Linked DNA regions of Homo sapiens: region 1 is linked to region 2. Evidence: promoter capture Hi-C in human tissues and cell types (Jung and others, 2019). All regions are on one chromosome and are shown on one strand. Each heading gives the region's core, a stretch centred on a gene start or on the middle of the fragment in contact. The rest is flanking DNA. Distances are from core to core; before and after follow the strand shown.

What was found. The method cuts DNA at HindIII sites, captures the fragments that hold promoters and counts their contacts. A contact is called where the count stands out against the background at its distance.
Region 1: a fragment that was not itself captured here is called in contact with the fragment with the promoter of SV2B in region 2 in 2 of the 25 tissues and cell types used here (dorsolateral prefrontal cortex and heart right ventricle).

The regions. Positions count from the first base shown.
Region 1 is chr15:91,240,541-91,248,251 of GRCh38, forward strand. The region is part of intron 2 of SV2B (synaptic vesicle glycoprotein 2B); the gene reads left to right. It overlaps LOC105370972 (a long non-coding RNA gene), which reads right to left and starts at 5,537. Exons shown (of 3, transcript XR_007064760.1): 1 at 3,041-5,537; 2 at 2,761-2,901. The HindIII fragment of the contact is 6,797 bases long and covers 2,459-7,711 here.
Region 2 is chr15:91,096,679-91,103,728 of GRCh38, forward strand. SV2B (synaptic vesicle glycoprotein 2B) reads left to right here and starts at 3,579. Exons shown (of 13, transcript NM_001323032.3): 1 at 3,579-3,685. RefSeq lists an enhancer at 2,815-3,356 and a silencer at 3,406-3,805. The HindIII fragment of the contact is 7,105 bases long and covers 1-5,869 here.

The DNA.
Region 1 (7,711 bases), core at 4,607-7,106, 150 kb after region 2:
AAAAACCAAGATGGCTCTCTCTGACCTCCATTTTTCCACTGGCAAGAGTAAAGAAGATTCTAGAATTCAATGTATTCTTGGTAAGCTTCCCAGCATTTTTTCTCCCCAGTACTACCAGCCTTGCCACCAAGATCAGGACTAATTTCATTATGCTCTTTATCCCTGTATGTCAATCACCGTGAGAGGTTCATGTCTGCCAGGACACCCCTTACCATCCACATTTGCATTCCCGTATGACACTGTACATGCCTCCGTTCCCCTATGTTTCCCCCTTCTCCTCTGAGGATGTTAATTAGCCCTGCAGCCTCAGATGAGTGCTCTTGGCCCCGTCACAGCCTCCACTCTTGTACCATTGCTCTTTCTTGCTCCCCCTGGACATTTCCAGGCCATTCTCCCTCTCTCCTCACTAAAAGATCTCATATTCGAATCTCTTGTCATCAGAGAGCATCACTTACTACACATTCTTGTTGCAGTCATCCACTGACTGGGCCATGTGCTCTCATTCCTGGAGAATTTTAGTTCCAGGTTCATCACGGTCACATTCCAACCATCTCTCTATTATTGTCCTTGGAGATTTTAATAAGTGATTTCCATTATCCTGGTCTGTCGTTTCCTTAAAGTCCTCTCCAATCTTTAGACTTTTAACCTCTTATTACCCCCTTGTTCTCACCACATTCCTCACTGAGCTTAATGTCCATGTCCATAATCACAGTCACTTTCTGTGCGCATCACCAGCTTCCTTGCACCTCTCTTACTCTGCTGTGTTCCCCACCCCTGGTTGCATCCGACTTTTCCTCCATCTGTCCCTAAACCCCGTTGCTGCACCTGGGTGGTCAGGAACACAGAACATACAATGTTGCCCACTGGCCTCACTAAATTGATGATGCAGAGCCTCCAGAGGATCCTTTGTGCTGCCAGCCATCATCCTTCATTTCCCTCATCCCTTCACACTCTCCTTGATGGTTATTTTGTGTCTTATCCACTATTTTCCAATTTCCAGCATCTCTTCCTCATCTTCACTCTCAGATTAATAAACTCAGTTCCTCCTGAACTGAGAACAACAGAAGTAACCGGAGAAGAACTTCTATAGCCCCTGTTATCACACCTACCTTCCTCGCTGCCTCTGTGCTGACCCCGTATTCTTGTGACAGTGGAGGAGGTGTGAGGCTCACTGGTCTCCCTGTATCCCATCCCCTCTCACCTCCCCAGAACATCACTTTTGTAATCCTTTTTCTCATCATTTTGTAACTCCTCCTCATCAATATTTATCTCTCTATGGAATCATTCCCACCAGCACACTACACATTTCTTCAGTCTTGATCCCACACACATCTTTTCTATTCCCTTTCCAGTAAAATTCACTGAACCCAGTTCCTCACTTTCTGTTCTCACTTGAACCCACTTTCAGTAGAATGAATGAGTGAGGACGTTTCATCTTTAAGCAGGAGTTAATCCTCGCCTCTTCAGAAACCTGCTCTTGTCTAGATCACTCTTGGCCTCCACTTGCTCAGTTCAGCAGTCAGCTCTCATCCTCAGCTTATTCACCTGTTCACAGCAACTCTAACGGTTAGCCACTCTCTCCTCCTTGATGCGCTTTCTTTATTGGACATCTAAGCTACCTCTGTCTCCTCGTTTTCCACCTGCCCATTGGCTGCTCCTTCTTGTTCTCCATCACTGGTCTCTCTTCATATTCCTGGCCTTTAAATGTTGGAATGTCTCAGTGCTCAGTCCTTGAATCTCTTGTGTATTGCCAGTCACTTCTTTGGGGATCGTGTTTGTTGTCTGCTTTCATTACCACCTTTCCTCTGGATGCCACCTTTAAAATGCATCCAGAATCCAGCCACTTCTTACCACTTTCCTCTACCTACCAACCTGGCCCAAGTCATCAGCGTCATTCACTTGAAATACATGTGGTGGCCTGCTAACTGATCTTTACGATTCCACCTGTTGGAGGGAGAGGCTATTGAGGATGGATGGTCAGGGAAGGCCTCTTTGAGATTTCGCCTGAAATATGAGAAGGAGCCAGCCATGCGAAGATCTGAACAAAGAACATTCTAGATAGAGGAAAGAGCAGTGTGAAGACTCTGAGGTGGGAGAGAGCATAGGACATCAGTATCCAGGGGTTGCTTAATACTTGATAAAAGGGTGAATAGCAGAATAAGAGTAACCGTCATAGGATGAAGAGATCTGACCCAGGAGTTACCTATTATTTTTTTAAATACGAATACTCACTTTCTGAACATGCTATTAAAGGCTGCACAAATCTCTGTCACACAGGGTTCTCAAATAGTAGGTGAAACTACTGTTTGGCTAGTAGTGTTTTAAAACTCAGAGATTTTATTTAGCAATCTAGATTTCTGGTTCTTTTTGAAACTGTAGGAATAGGGTCTATCTTCTGTAACACAGCAGTTGGCTGAAGTTAGGTGGTGGCTGCTCCCTTTAGACGGGCATGTATTTCTCAGTCCCCACACTCCCTATTAGGGATGTCTGGAAGTATCACCCATTTGTATAACCTGCCTGGGCCCTGTTGGCATCTGCTTTTGCCCTCTTATGAGACCCCTGGACTATTCCTATATCTCATCAGACACAATATTCCACCCTCTAGCAATGACCACAACTTGGTCTTAAGTGAAATGGCAGAGGCATCACTGAGCCTCATTGGGTTATGATCCTATCTGAGATGCCCACAGTGCCCAGGAGAGCTATCAGAGGTGTCATACCTCCACTGGCCCAGGTGACACCTCCTCTTACCCGTCTCACCTGGAGTCATTCTGGATTGGAGGCACCAAAAGGGAAGCTGCTTTTCTGAAACATCTCTAGTGTGGTGGTATGTGAGCAAGGCAATTTCAGGGTTCTTGAAGTATCCTCAGGGAATCTGTCTTAATGCCTCTTCTTTTTAGCCTGAGAGAAGATTAAGGAAAGTGACAGATACCCCTCTGCCCCAAGGCTAAGGTGAGCCCCAGTCAGAAACCTCACTGTTGTCTTAAATCCTTTCTATTGCAGCTGCTTCCACTGTGGCTGTGGATATGTCTCTACTCACCAAAGACACAGCCAGGAACCTGGGGTCTGGGTCTCCTCATTGCTCACTGCTTGGCCCAGAATGTTGTCTCATGGTTTCATCTTGGTTATCCATCTCCTGCGATGATAAAGTCTCTAGGTTGCCAGGCAAAGTCTTTAGTTTCCCCTGTATATGGTTGGAGAGAGAACTTCTTCCTGATTTAAGGCTCTGTCCTTAAATCCAATGCTGCTGAAGCAAGGGGCTTCTGTCTCTCAGACTCCCTGATCTGCCTGTAGACCCTCACCTCTGGGCCTATTGGACACATTCAGAACCTAGAACTTCCAGGAGGGGCGGTTCTGCTCTTCTGCTGTGCTGTGGCTCGCCCTGAGCTGAGGGGCCAGGGCAAGTGAGAATGTTGCATCCTCAGGCAGAGTGACAAATGCCTCACCCCAACCCTGCTGTCCTTGAAGAGTATTAGTGTATCTTTCTTCATGGGCTATGTCATAATTTGGGGCATTGGTGACTCACTCAACTATAATCCTAGGTTCTTTCATCAGAGATTGGGAAAGTTTACTTATACTTTAATAATTGTGGTCAGAGAGGAAATCTCTTAACCTCAGTTTCCTCATCTGTTAAATGAAGCCATTAATACCTCCCTCACCAGGTTGGAATGACAAATTGAAATTATTATACATGTGATCTATCACAGTGTCTTACATATGGCAGGAGATCAACAAATGTTAATTCTTTTGTCCCTTCATTTCTCCTCTACACATTTGTATCCAAATATCTTATGTGACATTTAGGAAAGAATTCCAACTACCAAGAGAATGGACAAGTTAACCCACTTCTGAAGATTCCTTCACTTGAGTTTACTGGACCCATAAAAGACTAGAAAAGTCGAACATGGTGATTCTAGATTGGTTTCCACTAGACGACATGTTAAAGCCAAACCTTTTCGACCCAAAAGAAAGTGTTTACTCATCCAGAAGTTTCCAAGCGTCCAGATGCCACATAAACAAAGCACCTGGCTGACTTACCCAATGCATCTTATTTCATAGGGTGTGCAGATGGATACCCTGATGTTCCTCCATGATTTAATACCAAAGTGAGAGTTCTTTGTGGGATTCCCATATATGTTAAAACATTTATCACATTTACCACTTTGAGGAACTGTGAATCCCATGCCCTAGTCCAAGAGAATACTACCCTTCAAGGGGGGTATATTTGGTTGAGTAATAAATAAATGGAATGGAAATGACAGGAATTACTTTTTAGAGATGTTATTATAGATGCAATGGAAATGGTTTAGTTGGAAGATGCTGATTTTTATTCCTGCAAAGCATATGCATACAGTCAAATAAATATTTGAGTCACTGCAGGAAAAAGAAGCTCATAATCCTCTCAGGATAATGAATGCATTTAATTTCTACATATTCAAGCAAGAAAAAGGTTAGAAGTGGTTTATTTGTCTTTGGTTAATTGCTAAATAAAGAAGCTCACCCAGTCAGGGCCTCTTCTTTCTTGTCACCACGGTAAGCCAGTGCGGTCTGATGGTACATCTTATCCTGCTGCCTCTGGTGTGGAGAGGAAATCTTCTGTCTGTGTGAAAAGCATCTCTAAAGCTGAGAAGAGGTTTCTGATATCTGCCAGCTCTCTAGAAGGATATTTGGCATTGTGTCTCAAGAGCCACAAACTTGTTGATCTCCTTCGATCTCATGATTCGATTTCTTGGAATCTATTCTGAGCAAATAACTAGAAACACCAACAAAGACATATGCATAAAATATTCTTTGCTGAGTTGTTTATTAAGTGAAAAGCTAGACTATGAAGCTTTCGAGACAGAAAGATTTCTATCGTGTAAATACAGTATGTAGTTATACACGTACCAATACAAATACAAAAATAAAGCCTGCTGACAACAGCTGTCTCTGAGTGGTGGTATGATGAATAGATTATTGCTTTACCTTTTATACATTTTGGGGGGTATTCCTCAGATTTTCTTACAGTGAATAGGAATTACTTTTAGATTGTTTTATTTATTGAACAAATATTAATGGAGTACCTACTATGTGTACATCTCTGTGCTAGAGACACAGTGTCGAACTCTCCTCAAGCAAAATCAACATGGTCCCTTCGTCCAGGAGTTTACAGTCACAGGAGTTTGGCAAATATCAAACAAATAAATATATAACATCAAATAGAGACATGTGATACAAAGGAAAAGCAATAGTATGCTGCCAAAAGACTATCAGGGACGACTGAAATTTGGAACAGGAACCAACAAACTGTGGTCTACAAACCTATGACCAATTTTTTTTTTAACATTTTTAAAGGGTTGTAAATTTAGGAATAATAATATGATGTGACAGAGACCATAGAAGATTGGCAAAGTACATTTTACAAGTAAAATATCTATGCTCTGTCCCTTTATAGAAAAAGTTGGTGGAGCCTTAGTTTGGAACATCAGGGATGCCTTTCTAAGGAGATGACATTTAATGTGGGAACTGAAGAAATATGAGTTAGCAAAAAAAAAAAAAAAAAATCCCCCCTTCAAAGTCTTGTTAGAGGAAACTTCGAAAATATTTTTCAAAAAAAGCTTTTTATTGGAAGCTGGCTTCTTCTCCAGGTAAGGAGAGAGGGAGGTCTATTTAAAGGGCATACTACTAAAAATAAGTTTCCTATGCTATTCTCTATCCTTTTTCCTCATATTCCTTTAGTATATGATTGGCTTGTTTTTAAAATATCACCATCTTATTTTTATTTTTCTAATCCTGTGGCTTTCCAAGGTCCTAGACAATTTTAAGCTGTACTGCTAATAACATCAATAGCAGCTTTTATTAAATGTGCATTTACTTTGGTGCCAGGCATTTTGCTAGATACTTTAAATCCACTCCCCTATATAATCCTAACAACTCTGCAAAGATGGGCACCGAATTTTACAAAGATGTAATAGTGGTCAGAGAGGCTGAATGGGCTGCCCACAGGCATGCTGTGGTAGTCATGGAGCCAGGACCATGGCCCAGATGTCTCAGTCTCAGAACTGGGCTCTTTCTTGCATGGTGCCTGTCACTGCAGGCTCCTCCCTCTTCCAAGGAGGGGTATTCTATTTCCTTTGTTGTGTTACCACCAATTAAAAGTCTTTTCCACTCCACCACATCGCTCCTCCTTTCAACCTCCTCCTCCTCCTCCTCCTCCTCCTCCTCCTCCTTCTTCTCCTCTTCCTCCTTTGCTCTGCAAGTAGCAATCCTGGTTTTCAATTTCCTCAAAAATCTCAGTATATTAAGGGATCATTTCCCTAATATGCCACCGAGCTTGTTGAGTGAAATTGAGGGAAGATTGAATTTCTGGCTTTCTAACTAGTTCCTTATCTGCTTCACACTAAGGTAATTTTTGATAACTCCACTGCACTCTAATTTTCCAAATGTATTTTTTAAATTTCTTTTGCTAAAGACAGATTTTAAATGAGTCTAATAACATAGCCATTCCAGAGACATTGTTAATTTTGTATTTCCCTTCCCTGGTGATAGGCTCATTTTTCCTTCATTCTTCCTTTTCCTAGACTTCAAAGACAGCATTTGAGAAGCTCTTCTTATTCTCTCTGGTACCTCCATGACCTTGGACAGTGAGGTTTAGTAGTGAAAGCACAAGGCCTGGAGCCAGGAGACCAGAAATGCAGTGCCAGCAGGTCCTCGGCCAGCATTGAGGTTCTGGGCAAGTTATTGACCCTTTCTGGGGCTCAGCCTCCTCGTCTGGTAAAACTAAGGGGTTGGATTCAACATCTAACTTGTAAAGTTTTTCAATTTGTCTAGGTGTCTAGATCAGTCATGGGATAGTCAGGAGACAAATCATACCAGTTACTTGAAAAGAGAGATTTTAATGTAAAAATTATTAACAGGATGGGTGAAACGCTTTTGAAAAGTTTCACTGAGGTAGCAAATGCAGGGAGAAGCTACCTCCCCTAGGGCTTGGAGAATAAAGGAAAGAGATTGGAATGATTATAACTTAGAATCTTGAAAAGGGGTTCCATAAAGCTGCAACTCAGCTCTCTTAAGAGAGGCCCTGGCTGGCAGTTGCTGGTGTTGGAGAGGAGAATGAAGTGCAATGTGGCCTCTGCTAATTGGATGCAGCTGCTATCTAGAAAGGAATTGCTGCAGTCAGGCTGAAACCTACAGGGAACAGAAAGGACAGGTGCTTTCTTCTTTCCCCAGCCCTGAAGCCTCCCTCTAGCGCCCTCTATTGGCAGAGCCTAGCAGAGAGTGGCTGGCAAAACTGACCGGGATTTGTGGACCAAGTAAGGTCTAGGAGGGTGGCTTTGGAGCTGAGGGACAATAATTTCATAACTGCACAGTGTTCATTGCTAAGATTGCAAACTGGTAGGTTAGAAGCCACTTTTTTGTTAAGGATATCTTTATTATTATTATTCGATTCTTTTTAAAGTCATTTATCATAGTCGTACATATTTTGGAGCACCTGTGATATTTTGATCCATGTGTACAATGTCATAAAGATCCTTGTCACGCCTGTAATCCCAGCACTTTGGGAGGCCGAGGTGGGCGGATCACGAGGTCAGGAGATCAAGACCATCCTGGCTAACACGGTGAAACCCCGTCTCTACTAAAAATACAAAAAATTAGCCGGGCGTGGTGGTGGGCGCCTGTAGTCCCAGCTACTAGGGAGGCTGAGGCAGGAGGATGGCGTGAACCCGGGAGG
Region 2 (7,050 bases), core at 2,329-4,828:
AAGGTGGGCAAACATGATCAGATTTCTAGACTTATAATAAAGGTAACTAAGACAGTGTAGTGTTGGTGTAAGTATAGGTACACAGACCAGTGAAACAGAATGAAGAGTCTAGAAATAGATGCACATATAGATGGTCACTTGACTTATAACAAAGATGCTATTGCAAGCTAATTCATAAAGAATGATCTTTTCCACAGTGGTTTTGGAGCAACTGCTATCTTGAAATAAAAGTAAAATTTCAGCCTACCTTATCCCATGCACAAATAGAAAATAAACTAAAATGTAAAGGGTAAAACAAAGGCTTGTAGAAGGAAAGAAACACCAGACAATAGATGCCCAACCCTGAGACAAAGAAAGATTTGTTAAACAAAACACACAAAAGCATTTGTCTTTTAATCACAAAAGAAAAAATTAATGTTGTGTGTCATTAAAATTAAGACAATAAAAATATAAGCCCCAAACACGGAGAAGATATTAAAATTACTATATCCAACCAAGGATTTATACCTAAAACAGAGAGAGTGCCTACAGATCAATAAGAAAAAGACAGAAAACCCAATAAATTGGTCAAAAGACTTGAAACTTTACAAAAGAATATCCAAATGGCCAATAAGCATAAGAAATTGCTCAACATTAGTAATAATCAAGAAACACACATTAAAACTATATCAAAGTTTTAACTTCAATGTAATTTACACTACACACAAGAATGGCTAAAATTAAAAGCACTGATAATGCCAAGTTATGGCAAAGAAATAGAACATCTGGAATTCTCAAATATTGCAGATGGGACTAGGACTGTAAATTGGCACAACCACTTTGGAAAACTGTTTGGTAGTACTGTATCTACTAAGGCAAAGTACTGTATCTATTTACTAAGGCAAAAACAGGCATTTACCTTGTGACCCAGCAACTCTATTCCTAGTTTCATATTCAAAAGAAAAGAGCACATATGTCTATCAAATGTTCATAACAGGCTGTGTGCCATGGCTCACACCTGTAATCCTAGCACTTTGGAAGGCTGATGTGGGTGGATATCTGAGGTCAGGAGTTTGACACCAGCCTGGCCAACATTTCAAAACCCCGTCTCTACTAAAAATACAAAAATTTTCCGGACTTGGTGGCATGTGCCTGTAATCCCAGCTACTTGGGAGGCTGAGGCAGGAGAATTGTTTGAATCTGGGAGGTGGAGGTTGCAGTGAGCTGAGATCATGCCACTGCACTCCAGCCTGGGCGACAGAGCGAGACTTCTTCTCAAAACAAAACAAAACAAAAAACCAAAAAAGAACAAAAAACAAGTTCATAGCAGCTTTATTCATCACAGCTAAAATCTGGAAGCAACTCAAATGTACACTCATAGAAGAAGGGATAAATTGTGTTATATTCAGGCAATAGAATACCATACAGCAATAAGAAAAAAATGACCTACTGATATATGTAATGATATGGAAGAATCTCACAGACATTATTTTGAGTAAAAGAAGCCACACCCAAAAGAGTACATACTATATATATACTGTATGACTCCATTCATGAGTAGTTCAAGAGCAGGTGATACTAATTGCTGCTGAAAAGGGTCAGAGTGGTGGTTACACCTAGGTGGAGGGTGACTGGTATTGCCTGGGAAAGAGCATAAAGAGACCCCTTGATGCCAGGACTGTTTGCCACCTTAATCTGGATGGTGGCTGTAGCAATAGATATTAAGCAGATACGATATTCTGGGTCCCTGTCCATATGAGGCAGACAACAGAGGCGTGCGTTCCTACAGCTTACATTCTCTTATGGAAGCCGGACAACAACTTTAGTAAGGCGTTGGGTGCTGTAGTAGAGGAACTAATGGTAGCTCTGGGCACATGGAGCAGGGAGAATTCAGGTATTTCAGGAATGAGGGAAGACTTCTTTGAGGAAGAGATGGCTCAGCTGAGAATAAGGCTTTAGGCAGAGGTAAGAGGAATGGGAGGAGGAGAACATTCCAAGCAGAGGGAACAGTATGTGCAAAGACCTAGAGGTGAAAGAGTGAGGCACGTCCAAGGAATTAGAAGTTCCATATGGCCAGAGTACAGGGGAAAAGATGAGGGTGGAGGGGTGAGGCTGTGGGGGGTTAGCAAGGGTTTGCTTTCCAGCACTAAATGTGATGTGTTAGGCTGGCGCTGTAGCGCGAGCCTGCATCCCAGCTTGGGAGGCTGAGGCAGGCGGATCACTTGAGCTCAGGAGTTCCAGACCAGCCTGGAGAACAGAGTGAGACTTCTACTCTACAAAACGTTTAACAATTGGCCAGGAGTGGTGGCGCATGCCTGTAGTCCCAGCTACTTGAGAGGCTGAGGCAGGAGGATTGCTTGAGCTGCGGAGGTTGAGGCTGTGATCCAGCCACTGCACCACAGCTTGGGCAACAGAGCCAGACCCTGTCTCAAAAAAAAAAAAAAAAAAATGTTTCGGATTTTTCAAGGACACTGGGAAGCCATCACATGGTTTTAGGTAGGAAAGAGTCAAGATCAGATTTACATGTTGAGAAATGACTCCAGGAGCCTGAGAAGTTGAAGTCCTTGCGGGTGGTCCAGGTGCGAGTCGGCGGAGGCCCCAGCCAGGGAAGAGGCAGGGAGCTGGAGCGCAGGTCATTGACGGCAGCGAGAGTGGGGAGTCCAGCTGAAGACCTCATGATGGAGGATGTGCTCCATGGAGAAGAGGGGGAAGGCTCTTCCAGAACTGGCCTTCATTTTAGCCCTGTTAGGAAAGGAACGTAGCTTCGGATCCTAGAGGGGCCAGGCACCTGCAGTGTTGTGCTGTTTGAGTCCGCATCCGAATTTCCAGTGTCCTTTCCTTGCTCCTTACTTGCTCCTAGAAGGAGCCCTATGCTCCTAAAGAGTCTTTCGGTGCTGAGCCTTGGCAGTTTAGTTTGCTGAACTCTCGTCAGTGGAGTTAGTGGGTGGTGGTTTGGAAGGAGGGAGACAGAGGTGGAGGGCTTGTTTGAATGCACCAAGCCTTGCAGGCTTTCCTCCTCCCCGCGCTGGCCGGGTAGGTTCTCTTCAGTTCCTGATGAGGCAAACGAGAACAAAGCAGTCGAACAGCACCATGATCGACGATACTTTGGGGGCGGCGTGATCAGAGGATTCCCCTTCCCGGGAACTTGCGTCTAGTCCTCTGACGCATCCTAGTTCGGAGTGGGTGGAAGGGCATGTGGAGTCCACAGCGCCCCCTCGCCCTAGGCGGGGTGGAGACAGCGAGACGACGCCCATGATCAGCTGGTTACAAAACTCGAGGAATAAGAAGTTTAATATTTATTGGTCTGCAAATCCGGAGACCTTGCGGCCTCACTGGTCCTCCTTCCCTCTGAGCTATCTCCACACCCAGCCTTCGATCAGAAGGAGATTTAGAAGCAGAGCTGCCCGCAGCGAATACTTTTAATGCCCGGGCCGGGAAGAAAGCGGGTTAGGATCTGATCCCGCTGAGTAGAGGACCCAGGAGCCTCCCGCCCCGCGTGCTCTGTAGCGCGGGGGCGCGCTGCGCGCTGCGCCTGGGCGGCTGGCGGGGGCGGCGTGGGCGCGGTGATGCAGGTGTGACACCCGCCGGCGCCTGCCTCCGCCCGGATCGCCCAGCTCCGCGTTAGCCGGAGCTGCACGCGGGGCTGCCGGGGCGGACGCTGCTCTGCCTGCATCCGGAGGCGGCCGCCAGCGGATTTGCCACCCAGGTAGGGGACTGCGTTGCTCGCTGCGGTGCAACCGACCCAGCCGGGGCGCGGACCCCGCGTGCGCCAGGGCTCCCAGACTCGCCTGCCTGGGCTGAAATATACACGCTCGCACAGCTGAGTGCTGTTCATAGTAAATGGCACAAAAGATCGGAGAGTCTTGAAAAACCGGCGCAGAAAAGCAAGGACTTGCCCGCTGCCTGGAGCTGTGCGCTTCTTTGAAAGCGGCCTCCCCAAGGGCTGTTTTAAAACCCTGTTTGAACTATTAGCGCCATAAGTAGTTTTGCAACTTATAAATGTCAGGCTGCTGGCATTTATAGCTCCGTTTCCATAAGCTTCCTAGCCGCTGCTTTTAGTTTCAGTTACATTCTAGTAGATAGATTTTGTTATTGTTGTTGGCTTGTTCTTAAAGAACAGAATTCAAACGTGCTTACACCTGGTGGCTCTTGGGGTTTGTGAGTGTGTATTTCTGTATGTGCAGGGCGCCCTCCGTGGGCGTGGGAGCCGTTTCTTAGGGACACAGAAGGATTTGTTTATGGACGGGTTTTAGCGCAAGGGAAAGAAAATGACTTGTTTTGCAGGGATGGGCTAGCAAATGCGTTTAGCCAGGGAGGAGCAAGGCACCGCTGTGTCTTCGGCAGACGGGTGGTAGAAATCTCTGCTGTCCAGGGTTCAGCAGGGCTGATGAAATACACTCCTTTATCCGGAAATTACAGATGCAAATTACTCCGTTTAAGGGTAACTTAACGTTGGTGTCTTGGGCTCTGATAAGAGCAGCCCCAGTGGGGTGGGGTGGGACGCTGGGGGAATGCTTGCTGGCTTTCTAGCCCTTGGGGAGGTGAATGTGGGTGGCTTTGGGGCTCAGAGAGTGGCAGGTGAGGGGTAAGGAGGGTGCATGAGGGAGGACTGGGCACTGTAGTCGGCTCAGCGGTGGTTCTGGTCTATGCTGGTCTCCTCTGTGTTTCTGCTTCCTGCCCTTTCCAGAAGAGGTGACTTGTTCTGCTTGTTCCAGTTGGTGCAGTAGGTACAGGCTCGTTCTGCATCTTTCTTGAGTCAGCAAATACTTACTGAGCACTTAGTATTTGTCAGAGATGGGATTAGTCCTTGGGGATGCAGAGATGATGATAACAATGTCCTGGCTCCCTGAGGTTCACACCTGGTAGGGGGAGAAGCACTCGTAATCAGGAGGTGGATAAGTTCATGATGGTGTTGGAAAAGAGCAGTGAGAGCAGAGAGGAGGAGGAAATTGATAGTGGCAGTGATTAGTATAAAAATGAAGCCCTCATGGATTAGGCATGGCGTGGATTTCAGCAGGGACTGGGTCGCTCTCTTGGTTCTTCGGTCCGGGAGTGACCCACATGACTCTCCCACACCATTGCCATCACTGCCACTGGGTGGGCAGAGCTTTACAAGTCTCGGCTGGGCTGGTATTTGCAGTATGTGACTAGACCCCAGTAGACACAGGCTGACACCCAGAGAGGAGCACACACAATACAAGTCAGACTTTAATTTTTTCCTTTTTTAATGAATGCTTTTCCTGAATTCCAGGACTATGAAGGTTTTGAAGCAACACTTCACAAAGGCAGGGACTCTGGAAAATTCTGAGGGAGTTTCAGAGCAGATGAACTTCTGTCTGCTTCTCCCTGGGTCCCCGACCTATCTGTTCTTGTCCCAGCCCAGTTCAAAAGGAAAACTCTCCCTTGATTTTCCCTAAATGGGTGGAATAAGGGAAAACTAAAGCTGTTACTACCAGTCTTTTCTGGGAGATGAAAATCCAATCTCAAGGATGTTTCTTCCTGGACCAAAGCTGTGATGGGTGACGAAAAATGATAGAATGAAAAGCTCTTGTGTTATGTATTTGCCAGAGATGTGTGTTACATGCGCCTACATCATCATTAAGGTATTTGAAAAGCAGCGTGCACTACAAGAAGCATGAGCGTGGATGCTCAAACAGACCTAGGTGAGTGTCTTGGGCAAGTTACTCAGCCCCTCTTTGAGCATTAGTTTCCTGATCTGTAAAATGGAGACAGTAATAGGATTCTTATAATAATTAAAGAAAAGATACTTTAAAATATTTACTCATTGTTACCCGATCATCATATATAACTTGCCTGGCACAAAGTAGGTGCTCAAGAAATGGCAGTTCATTCATTAAGTTCCTACTATGTGTCAGCCATTGCTCTATGTGTGGAGAATACAGACAAAAACAACCAAAAAAGCCCTCTCTCAAGGAGCTTAAATTAATGAGAGAGTGTGTGTATGTGTGTGTGTGTAAGATGATGGACAAATAAATAAGTATAGAGTGTATCAGCTAATGAGACACTGTAATGGAGAAAAATAAAGCTGGCTGAGAGGACTGGGGAGTGCTGCCAGAGGGCAGGGTGGGGCTTGTTATTTATTTTTATACAGCTTGGCCAGGGAAGGCTTTTTGGTAAATGACATTTGACCAGACATCTGGGGAAGTGAGGGAGGAAGCCAGGGATTCTGGTAAATGACATTTTACCAGACATCTGGGGAAGTGAGGGAGGAAGCCAGAGGTTGCAGGCAGCACCTGCAAAACCCTGAGATAGGAGAGAGGTGTGTTCCCAAGAGACCCAGAAAGGAGGCCACGGAAGCTGCTGTTGAGTCAGACACCCGGGACAGCAGTAGGACCTGAGGTCATAGGGGCAACACGGCAGGTATTTGAGATATTGCCTCTTAGGATTCCTATTTGTCACTATGATGTATGTGCTGAGTTATTGTTTAAGGAACTGGATGAAATCCTAAACTCTGTGTTTAGAAGAAGGTTGGTTGGTAGATATAAGTACTTGTGGTCATTCAGAGCATAAACGAATGCAGGAAGCAGAAAGCATAGGTCTTTGCAAGGCAACAGGAAGCACAGGAATTAAGGACACTGTGGAACGCAACATTCAGATTTCTCCCATCCGGATGGAGGACTGTGTTTGTGCTTCTTTTGAATCTTAGTATTATGATTTTTTGTTTCCTTTCCCCCACACTAAAAGAAAAGGTCATCTTTAGCAAACAGGCCAGCAGTCCTTGCTAGATATTCTTTTTTCTTTGAGAATGAGAAGAGTTTCTATGATCATGGAAAAGTGTTGGGATCATCTGGAAATATGCTGACCTTCAGTGTACCATGAAATGCATTTACATAATATCATATGGCAAATTTATTTAAAGCCTCTATCTTATAGGCTTAACATAAAGATCAGTTTGCTGCTCTGCCCTTTGGAAACTTTATTCCTCTAGAGAAAACATGGTTTGGGCATTTGAGAGCCTCATCACTCAGCTGTCCTTGGTGCAGAAGGGCTACTGCAGTGTGTTCCATGGCCAGAAATGGGGCTGGATGCCTGAGAACCTAGTCAAAGTTT